2 separate regions of the Homo sapiens genome follow, and region 1 is linked to region 2. The links are contacts of gene promoters, found by promoter capture Hi-C in blood cells and fetal thymus (Javierre and others, 2016). All regions are on one chromosome and are shown on one strand. The core of a region is centred on a gene start or on the middle of the fragment in contact, and the rest is flanking DNA. Distances in the headings are between cores, read along the strand shown.

Region 1 (4,899 bases), core at 915-3,414, 290 kb before region 2:
GATGGCTGTCAGATGTCAGCATGCCCTGAAATGATAAGTTAAAAGAATATGTAGTGGGCATTGCCCTCATTTGCTACAGTGTAAAACAATAAAGTTTATAACAATGAATTTCCAGAAGTATATTCTTAAATTTACTAGAATGTTCAAAAAGAAAAAGAAATAATTGAATGATGAGTCTGGTGGAGCAGACTCATAATTATCATGAACTCATAATAATATGAGTATATGAATAATAATATGCTCTAGTGGAGCAGACTCATAAATATTATGGTACATTATTTTAAGCTTACACTCCTTGACTCAACTTCCCAAAAGTTCAGTTAGATTATTGTCTCTATACTAATGTCATACCATAGAAATATTACCTGAAATCTAAAAATAAAACAATATTTGCCATGTACCTCCACATTCTAAACTGAGGTGCTACACCATTAGGGAGGACGTACATGGAGGTGATCAAGAGATGGCATACAAGCGTTAAGCCTTCAACTTTTTTAGGGTATGAAAGAGAGAGACAGTTGGAGGTTGGTGGAGAGGAATATTTGAAGTTATCTCTCAGAGTATTCTTTTACCCCTCCCTCCATAAGGAAAGAAGGAACTAATCTTAAGTTTGTTGATGAGAGATTGAAAAGTACTACTGGAGAACTTCGTGTCTCTTATCTGGAATTTGGTGAGTGCTAGAACAAGTACCTTCCTCACACATGCCCAAAGTAATTTATAGATTCAATGCTATCTCCATCAAGCTCTCATTAACTTTGTTCACAGAACTGGAAAAAACTACTTTAAATTTCATATGGAACCAAAAAAGAGGCCGCATGGCCAAGAAAATCCTAAACAAAAAGAACAAAGCTGGAGGCATCATGCTACCTGACTTTAAACTATACTGCAAGGCTAAAGTAACAAAAACAGCATGGTACTGGTACCAAAACAGATATCTAGACCAATGGAACAGAGAGGCCTCAGAAATAACACCACATGTCTACAACCATCTGATCTTTGACAAATCTGACAAAAACAAGTAATGGGGAAAGGATTCCCTGTTTAATAAAAGGTGTTGGGAAAACTAGCCATATGCGGACAACTGAAACTGGACCCCTTCCTTACACTTTATACAAAAATTAATTCAAGATGGATTAAAGACTTAAATGTTAGACCTAAAACCATAAAAACCCTAGAAGAAAACCTAGGCAATACCATTCGGGACATAGGCATGGGCAAAGACTTCATGACTAAAACACAAAAAGCAATGGCAACAAAAGCCAAAATTGACAAATGGGATCTAATTAAACTAAAGAGTTACTGCACAGCAAAAGAAACTATCATCAGAGTGAACATGCAACCTACAGAATAGGAGAAAATTTTTGCAATCTATCCATCTGACAAAGGGCTAATATACAGAATCTACAAAGAACTTAAACAAATTTACAAGAAAAAAAACAACCCCATCAAAAAGTGGATGAAGGATATGAACAGACACTTCTCAAAAGAAGACATTTATGCAGCCAACAAACGTAGGAAAAAAAGCTCATCATCACTGGTCATTAGAGAAATGCAAATCAAAACCACAATGAGATACCATCTCACCCCAGTTAGAATGGTGATCATTAAAAAGCCAGGCAACAACAGATGCTGAAGAGGATGTGGAGAAATAGGGACAATTTTACACTGTTGGTGGGAGTGTAAATTAGTTCAATGATTGTGGAATACAATGTGATGAGTCCTCAAAGATCTAGAACCAGAAATACCATTTGACCCAGCAATCCCATTACTGAGTATATACTCAAAGGATTATAAATTATTCTACTGTATAGACACGTGCACATGTATGTTTATTGCAGCACTATTCACAATAGCAAAGACTTGAAACCAACCCAAATGCCCATCAGTGATAGGCTGGATTAAGAAAATGTGGCACATATGCACCATGGAATACCATGCAGCCATGAAAACGATGTCCTTTGCAGGGACATGGATGATGCTGGAAACCATCATTCTCAGCAAACTAAGAACAGAAAACCAAACACCGCATGTTCTTACTCATAAGTGGGAGTTGAACAATGAGAACACATGGACATAGGGAGGTATCACACACTGGGGCCTGTCATGGGTGGGGGACTGGGGGAGGGATAGCATTAGGAGAAATACCTAAGGTAGGTGACGGGTTGATGGGTGCAGCAAACCACCATGGCATGTATATACCTATGTAACAAAACTGCACGTTCTGCACTGTACCCTAGAACTTAAAGTATAATAAAAAAATTTTTTTAACTGGTTGGTATTCTCTACTGAAGTTGAAGATATGTATATGCCATAACCAAGCAATTCTACTTGTTGTATATGCCTGACAGAAATGTGTGTATATGTGCACCAAAAGACATGTGCAAAACTATTTATAGCAACACTGTTTAAAATACCCCAAAGCTGAAAACAACCCACATGTTTGTTCATCAGCATAAAGGATAAATAAACTGTGATCTAGTCATACAATGCATTATACAACAAAGAAAATGAACTACGAGGCCAGGCGCAGTGGCTCACACCTGTAATTCCAGCACTTTGGGAGGCTGAGGCAGGCAGATCACACAGTCAGGAGCTCGAGATCAGCCTGGCCAACATGGTAAAACCTGTCTCTACTGAAAAAATGCAAATATTAGCTGGGCGTGGTGGCAGACGCCTGTAATCCCAGCTCTCAGGAGACTGAGGCAGGAGAATCATTTGAACCTGGGAGGCAGAGCTTGCAGTGAGCCGAGATCGTGCCATTGCAATCTATACTACAATGCTATAAACTATACTACAAGGCTAAAGTAACAAAAACAGCATGGTACTGGTACCAAAACAGATATATAGACCAATGGAACAGAGAGGAACTACAGCCTGGGTGACAAGGCGAGACTCTCAAAAAAAAAGAAAGAAAAGAAAATGAACCACAATAGCTCCATATAGTAACATGGATAAATCTTACAAACGTAATATTGAGTGAAGGAAGGCAGGCACAAAACATACATATTGTATCATTTCAATTGCCTGTCTAAGAAACATAACTGATGTATGGTGTTAAACTGCTTTTGGGGAGTGAGTGAAGGTATAGTGATTAGAAGAGGGCATAAGGAAAGAATACTGGGGTGTTGGTAATGCTCTGTAACTTGACCTGAATAGTGGTTACTGGAGTGTGTATGCCTTGTGCCAGATTCATTGAGCTGTACATATACATTCTGAGCATTTTTTAGTATTTGTATAACTGTTATATTTTAGCTTAAAAAAGTTATTAAAAAAAGATTAGCCACGTGTTTTGTAGTCATTTGACTCACTGAGGGCTAGTCTCTCTTTGAGTATGCTATTGATAAATAAATGTCCCCCAAAGATGTTCACATTCCTACTCCCCAGAACCTGTACATGGTACCTTAGATGGCAAAAAGGACTTTGTAGATGTGATTAAATTACCAATCTTGAGACAAGAAAATTATCCCGGATTATCCAGGTGGGTTCAATATAATCACAAGGGTCCTTATAAGAGGGAGGTAGCAGGGTCAGAGTTGGAACGATGCACCGAAACCCTTGAATGGCCATTGTTGGCTTTGAAGGTGGAAGGGGTCAGAAGTCTAGGAATGCAGGCAGTTTCTAGATGCAGGAAGGGCAAGGGAATGGATTTTACTGAGAGCCTTTAGAAGGAAGGAAGCCCTGCCAATACCTTGTTTTCGGCCCCATAAGACCTAATTTTGGACTTTAACCTCCAGAACTTAAGATAAATCTGTGGTTGTAAGCCACCAAATTGGTTGTAATTTGTTACAGCAGGAATAGAAAATTAACACAGTAGCTTACACATTGTGCTGGTCAGAGCACACTGCACATAATAGGTACTCTGCGAATGTGTATTGGATGAATGGACAAGCTCCCGACATGCCAGATTCTTAATTATGATGAAAGAATATTATAAATAAAGAAAGGTGTTTATGTCTGTGAGAATTCAAGACCGGTATCATGTGGTGTGAGCAGGCCGTTTTCTTCTAGTCTCTCTCCCACTGATCTTCCACATCTCAAGCTTTCCAGACTAAACACCTGGAGGTGCAGTGAACAGAGCACAGGATAAGGCTTTGACCTTATCAGACAACAAAAGTGAAGATGAAGATGTAGGTAAAAGTGTCATAATTAAAGCATCTTCTTACTCTACCGGAGACATTCATTTGTCTGGAAGGAGTTAGAATTCTTTATGAAAGAAAAGTAGAGAGAAATAAGACTGAGGTAATATTAGTCTTTTGACATCCAAATGGATTAATTATGCCATGCATCAACTTTAGGACTCAGTCACAGAAATGTAGCACATCACAGTCAAGTAGAGAGAGCCCCTGGGGTTTAACTTTACAAAGATGCCTTGAGTTTTTATGTGATTTAGATACTGAATTGAAACCTGGTGGGCTCTTATAGGCCTCCATAGCCGAATGAGTTGACTTGACAATAACAGAGTGTGGAATGCTGGACCAACTTGTAGGCTGGAGGATGTGGCAATCAACTCAGGGTTATGCAGACAGCAAAATTTTTCTTACAGCATTAGCAACTCAGAAACATTGTCCCTGTAGAAAGTGTAGACCCCATGTGAACTAGCCAGTTCAGCAGTGGTGTCCTGCAGAATGCTGAACAACTAGGTTCATAAAAAACAGTGCTCGAGAGACCAGCAGATGGAGCTGCTGCAACAGAAAAACAAGGCTGAGGCTAGAGTTCCTTCTCAGCACCAGAAGCTTGAATAAACCACACTCTTTCCACCACACATTGGGATGAGAAGCAGGGGAAGGCTTTCTTAGTAATCAAGCATCATTTTATCCAACAGAGAATGAATAATTCCTAAAAATATACTAAATTGTCAGGTTAGACTAAATGAAAATTAGATTGAACTATTAGTTTGGT
Region 2 (5,300 bases), core at 853-3,352:
CATCTGGCATGGACTGGGGTGGAAATGGGGATGTCAGTTTGAAAGCTGAGACCTGGCCAGGTGCGGTGGCTCACTCCTGTAATCCCAGCACTTTGGGAGGCCGAGGCGGGCGGATCACCAGGTCAGGAGATCAAGACCATCCTGGCTAACACGGTGAAAACCCATCTCTACTAAAAATGCAAGAAAATTAGCCCGGCACGGTGGCTGGCGCCTGTAGTCCTGTAGTCCCAGCTACTCGGGAGGCTGAGGCAGGAGAATGGTGTGAACCCGGGAGGCGGAGCTTGCAGTGGAGCCAAGATTGCGCCACTGCACTCCAGCCTGGGCAACAGAGCGGGACTCCATCTCAAAAAAAAAAAAAAAAAAGCTGAGACCTGAAGGGTGAGTAGATGACAAACAGGCAGGGTAAAGGGAAGAGCATCCCAGGCAGAGAGGCTAGCATATAATGAAGGCTCTGAGTAGGAACTGGGAGGAATTGCTTGGAATGAAAAATGAAGAGGGAGTGGCTAGATGAAGACTGCAGGCTGGTTAAGGACTTTTGCCCTCTGGAGAAGGAGCTGAGAAGTGTTTTAAGCAGAAATTTGACTGCATGGGAGAAGTATAGAGTTGAGAAAAGTAGTCCTCTGAGGCTTAAGATAGTGTCATCTAGACTCCAGTTCCCTCATCTTGGGTAGCATAGTAGCCCCAGCCCAAAACTGCAAGCATGATCCCCGTCTGGGTTTCCTTCACAAGCACTGGAGCATCTTGTGCTATGTGCTGAACTCAGGTGGATAAGAGGTTGAGGCGGTTCCCAAAGCTCCTGCTGCACCCAGGTGTTGAGCCTAAATCTGAACCTTGTGGAGAGGTCACAAGAAAGATCCCTAACAGCACTTTGGTTTAGTCAGGGCTAGGTGTCATCACCTGTATGCCCTTTGGCCAAGGAAACCAGAATTTTTCAGGATTTTCCCCACCTCTGGAAGGCTGGAGGAAGGGGAAGACCCACTCAGCAGATTCCCATAGTGCAGGGATCCTCACAGGCATGACTTTGCCCTTTGTCATGGATACTGCAGCTCCCAGACAGTCTTCTGGGCTTTGATCAGCCTGCAATCATCTGACTAGAGCTTGATTTTTGGGGCAGGGAAGGTGGTCCTTATATGAGCTGCCACTTAATGGGCCACTGGGGATTTTTCAACATGAAAGGTACCGAGTCTCCAAATGCTGGTTGTAGGGCCTAAAAACAGGGCTCAACTCCAGGTTCTGCCACTTTCTAGCTGAGTGATGAGGGCTAACGTCTGGGGAGCAAGATCCCTATTTTTTCCCATTGTAAAATTGGGCTAATAAAAGATGCTACCTACTGACTATTAAATAATATATGTAAAGTGGCTAGTTCTGTGTCGGCACATAATAACCACTCAGTCCCTGTAAACTGTTACAATTATTTTCCACTTGGGGCTGCTTTTTGCACAAGGCGATGATTCTGAGAATTGTCCAGTGTCTTTGGTGTGAGGAAGGGAGTCGCTGGATGGTCTGAACCAGAATTTCCTCAGGAGGGGGCTCCTGAAGCGCCCAAAGCCTAATCAAATCCCCCACCTTTCTACCCCTTAACTCCTTCTCCCAGAGTTCTGGGTACTGCCCTTCTGCCGCCCAGAGATCGTGCTGAGGTACAGACGGTTTCTACGTCTTCCTGGTCAGCCGATAGACTAGCATATTCCATAGGAGCACTCCAAGGAAGCCGGAAAGGGCGCCTCCAGGAGGCAGGCGGCCCAGACAGGCTCCCAGAGTCCGAAATCCCTGCTGCCCCAGCTGCCTTTTCTTGACGGAGTCTCATCTCAATCCCTGAGACCGACTACACCGCCCTTCCCGGAGCCGGAGGCAGCTGGCGGAGATCCGGGATCCGAGATCCGGGATCCGGCTCGCCGGCCCGCCGGCTCCCTAGCAGCACCAAGGAGGCAGCGTCCGCAGGAGGTGGAGGCGTTGGCGGGGGGGCGTGCGGGTGCGGTAGGGGTGGGCAGGCGGGGTGGGCGGGGCCTCCGCGGCGGCGGGCGGGGCGTGGGTGGGTCTTCCCTACTGGAGTCACCCCCTCCCCCGGCCGGTCCGCAGCCCCGCCCCGGCCCCTCCCTCCGGCCTGTGCGGCTAGTCCGGCGGCGGCGCCGGCGCGGGGACAGGCGGAGGCGCGGGCAGGGCCGGGCGGACGGGCGCTGGCAGCAGTAGCAGCGCCGCGGGCCCTTCAGAGTGGCCGCAGTCCGAGCTTTGCCCTCGCATCCTGTTCCAACGCGGTGAGTGCGACGGGCGGGCCCCAAGGGTGCGTTTGTATTCCTGTCAGCCCGGGTCTGGGTCGGAGCGTCTGTGGGTGGGGGCACAGATGATTTTCAAAAGCTGTGCCTCTCTCTGCCCACGTGAGGCGTGTCCATGTCCGTGAGAGCAGCAGGGGGATTCTTCGGGCTGTGGCTGCTCACGTGAGGTCCCTGTTTTGAGGCGGGGAGGCGCGGGTGGATGGGTGATGGTTCCTTAGGGGAGCGCGGGGTTTGGGAGCTTGTGTGTGTTGGCGGAGGGTGCTGAACGCTGCGGCCGAGGGTGGTGGTGGTGGTGCGTGCTGAGTGGGACTCTGGAATATTGTGGCCCATCTTGTCTGAAGGGCTCTTTTCTCCCTGGTGCAGACACCTCCACCCCTTGCTCCCCCACCCCCACCCTACCCCACCCCCCGCCCCTTCCATCCTCTGGTACCCACAGGCCCACCAGTCAGGATGGAGGACACCCTTTCCTCCCCATGCACTGCTCTGTGGACAGAAAGCCTCATGTGGAGGCTGTTTTTTTGTAGGAAAGGACCCCTCTGGTTCTCCTGTAGCCTGAGCCCTGCCTGGAGGACCCCAGGCCCCTCCCTGGTTCTGACCTCCTCCCTTCTGCAATTGGCTTCAGATCCTGGGCTGCAAACCTGCAGGGACAGATGGTTGCAGGTTGGAGGGGCAGGCTGCACCCCAGGGAGGTCAGTTCGACTGAGGGCAGGCCCTGGGCTTGTTCTTGGTGTGGGGGTTCTCTGATGTGGACAACAGAAACTCAGGACTGGCCCTAGCAGGAAGATCACATCTGGGAGGTCACAGCAGGTGCAGAAAACATCACAGGTCTCCCTTGGCCAGTCTGTCTAGCTCACTGGTGCCCATTCATCCCCTAAGCAGGGGATGATTTGCTGCAGAATTGGAATCAGAGCTGCAGGCCTGACAGTAGCCCTGCCTCCTTGGGCTTGTATGCCTCCAGTGACAGAGCACTTGCTACTTTCTGCTGTGGAAAAGCTTCCTTATATTAAGCAGAGGTCTCTCTTCTTGGGACTTTATTCACTTGTCTTGTTACTGCCATTACTTTTGCATCTCTCTCTGATGAAAGGGAACTGCAGAGATTTAAACAGAGCTCTCCTGTAACCAACATATACTGAGTACTTCCTGTGTGCCAGGTACTGCCACAGCCACTTAGGAGACAATGGCATTCTTGCCGAGAGAACTTGAGCAAAGAGTCCATCGTTGGGATAGTATAGCCCAGGTTCAGAAAAGCAGAAAAACCATATGGTTAGAATAGAGAGCGTTCATAGAGTGTCACAGGTGACTTAAAACTCAGCAAACATTTATTTACGGGGGCGAGGGGGCAGGGGGAGTGTGGAGGGGAGGCAACTAAGACCATCCTCTAACACATTTAGCCTAACAGTGGAAACTAGAAGTCAAATCATCGAGGTAGTACAAGATGGGATTTAATCATGGGCTCATGGTACAATCTGTGGAAGCCCTTGGCTTGAGAGGGAACCTTGGGAATCTCAGATTTTGAGAAAACATCCCTCTTCTCCCAATTTACAAATAAGGGAATGGGGTTGGAACTTACCTAGAGTTTCACCTTGTGTTAGTGGAGTTAGTTACAGCATTAGGACTAGATCCTAGATCTCCTAACTTTTTAAACCTAGCCAAATTTCAGAGGCAGAATTGAGGATGTAGTCATAGCTTGTATCTGAAAGGTGAAAGAAAAGGTGTAATTGAGAAGACTACCAGGGTTCTCGCTTGTGTGGGTGGGTGAGTGGTGGTGCCTTTTATTTATTTATTTATTTAGATTTATTTATTTTTAGCATATTTATTTTTATGCTTTTAGGATGTAAAAGCATCATGTATAACCTCTGCCTTTTGGAGATTTGCAATCTTGTCCATCTGTTCCATATTTCTTAGTTTCTCATGTTTCTGTTTCTTTACTCACTGTTTTCCCAATGTACGTATCAATGTCCTATTTGTCTCTCAAGACCCAGCTCAAATACCCCTTCCTCTGGAAGCCTTCTTTATTCTGTACCATCCTCAGAGTTAGGTACTTCCTCCAGTTTGCTGCTGTAGCAATTTGAACATGTCAATATCATGGTACTTATCACATTGTAGTTACGTGTTTCCATTTCTGTTTCTCACATTAGTCTAAAAACTTGTGAAAGACAGGGAGTGTGTCTGATTCAGCTTTGTGTCTCTATTTCACAGCTGAAGGACCTGGCCCACAGTGTGCCCAGAGAAGTTTGATTGAATGGTTCATTCACTTTACTCAGTCTGGCAATGTTGGGGGAGATGGCCATGAATTTCATTGCTTTCCTTCCCTGCTAATCTTATTTAAAGGATTCATTGGCTTTAAGGACTTTGCCTCATCCAAGGCTTCATTTGTTTCAGAGAAAGCCCAAAGACTGTAACCTGCAGTCATTTGTCATTTTTTTGAGGTCTCAAATGATCAGATAAACCTGGAAGCTAGTGAGTAGACGTGAGTTATTTTAGCAAGCAAATGAGCCTAGCTGACCTCTCGCATCCATTTTCAACAATGCCTTGGTTACCTCCATTCACAACTGTGTAACTCATGTGTACTGGGAATCCTGTGAGATTGTAGGAGGAAGTCCTGGGGAAAATTAATGCTATTTGAGAATTTGGAGAAACTGAAAAGCCTTGAAACACATCCTTTGCAGATGTCCAGGATCTAGTGGAGTCAGCACTGGCTGTCTTCATTTGTTCACAATCAGCTTCTTGCTTGACTCCCTGCATCTGGCTTCCTGTCCTCCATCCCCTGAAAACCACATGCTCTGAGGTTAATGAAAGCCTCTTTGGGGCTTAAATAATGGGACCTCTGCAGCATTTCACTCCCTTGTTCATGAAGTTCTCTTCTCCCTTGGCATTCATGACATCTGTTTCCTGATTCTCTTGCTTCTCTGGTTGTGCCTTCTCAATCTTCTTTGCAGACTCTGCTTCCTGGGCCTATCTCTTAAATATTGAGGTTCCTTGGGACTTGGTGATAGACCCTCCTTTCTCTCTTTACCCTCTCAGGGTAAT

Evidence for each region. Contacts are between HindIII fragments. The CHiCAGO score rates a contact against its expected background, and 5 or more counts as called.
Region 1: a fragment that was not itself captured here is called in contact with the fragment with the promoter of TRIM3 in region 2 in 3 of 17 cell types (activated CD4 T cells, naive CD8 T cells and naive CD4 T cells); the score reaches 6.6 in activated CD4 T cells.

Annotation. Positions count from the first base shown.
Region 1 is chr11:6,757,348-6,762,246 of GRCh38, reverse strand. No RefSeq gene overlaps it. Among named protein-coding and RNA genes, the nearest start is that of OR2AG2, 12 kb to the left of the region's middle. The HindIII fragment of the contact is 3,754 bases long and covers 288-4,041 here.
Region 2 is chr11:6,470,743-6,476,042 of GRCh38, reverse strand. It overlaps TRIM3 (tripartite motif containing 3), which reads left to right and starts at 2,102. Exons shown (of 12, transcript NM_033278.4): 1 at 2,102-2,252. RefSeq lists a silencer at 1,976-2,205 and enhancers at 1,563-2,501, 2,502-3,441. The HindIII fragment of the contact is 3,557 bases long and covers 1-3,265 here.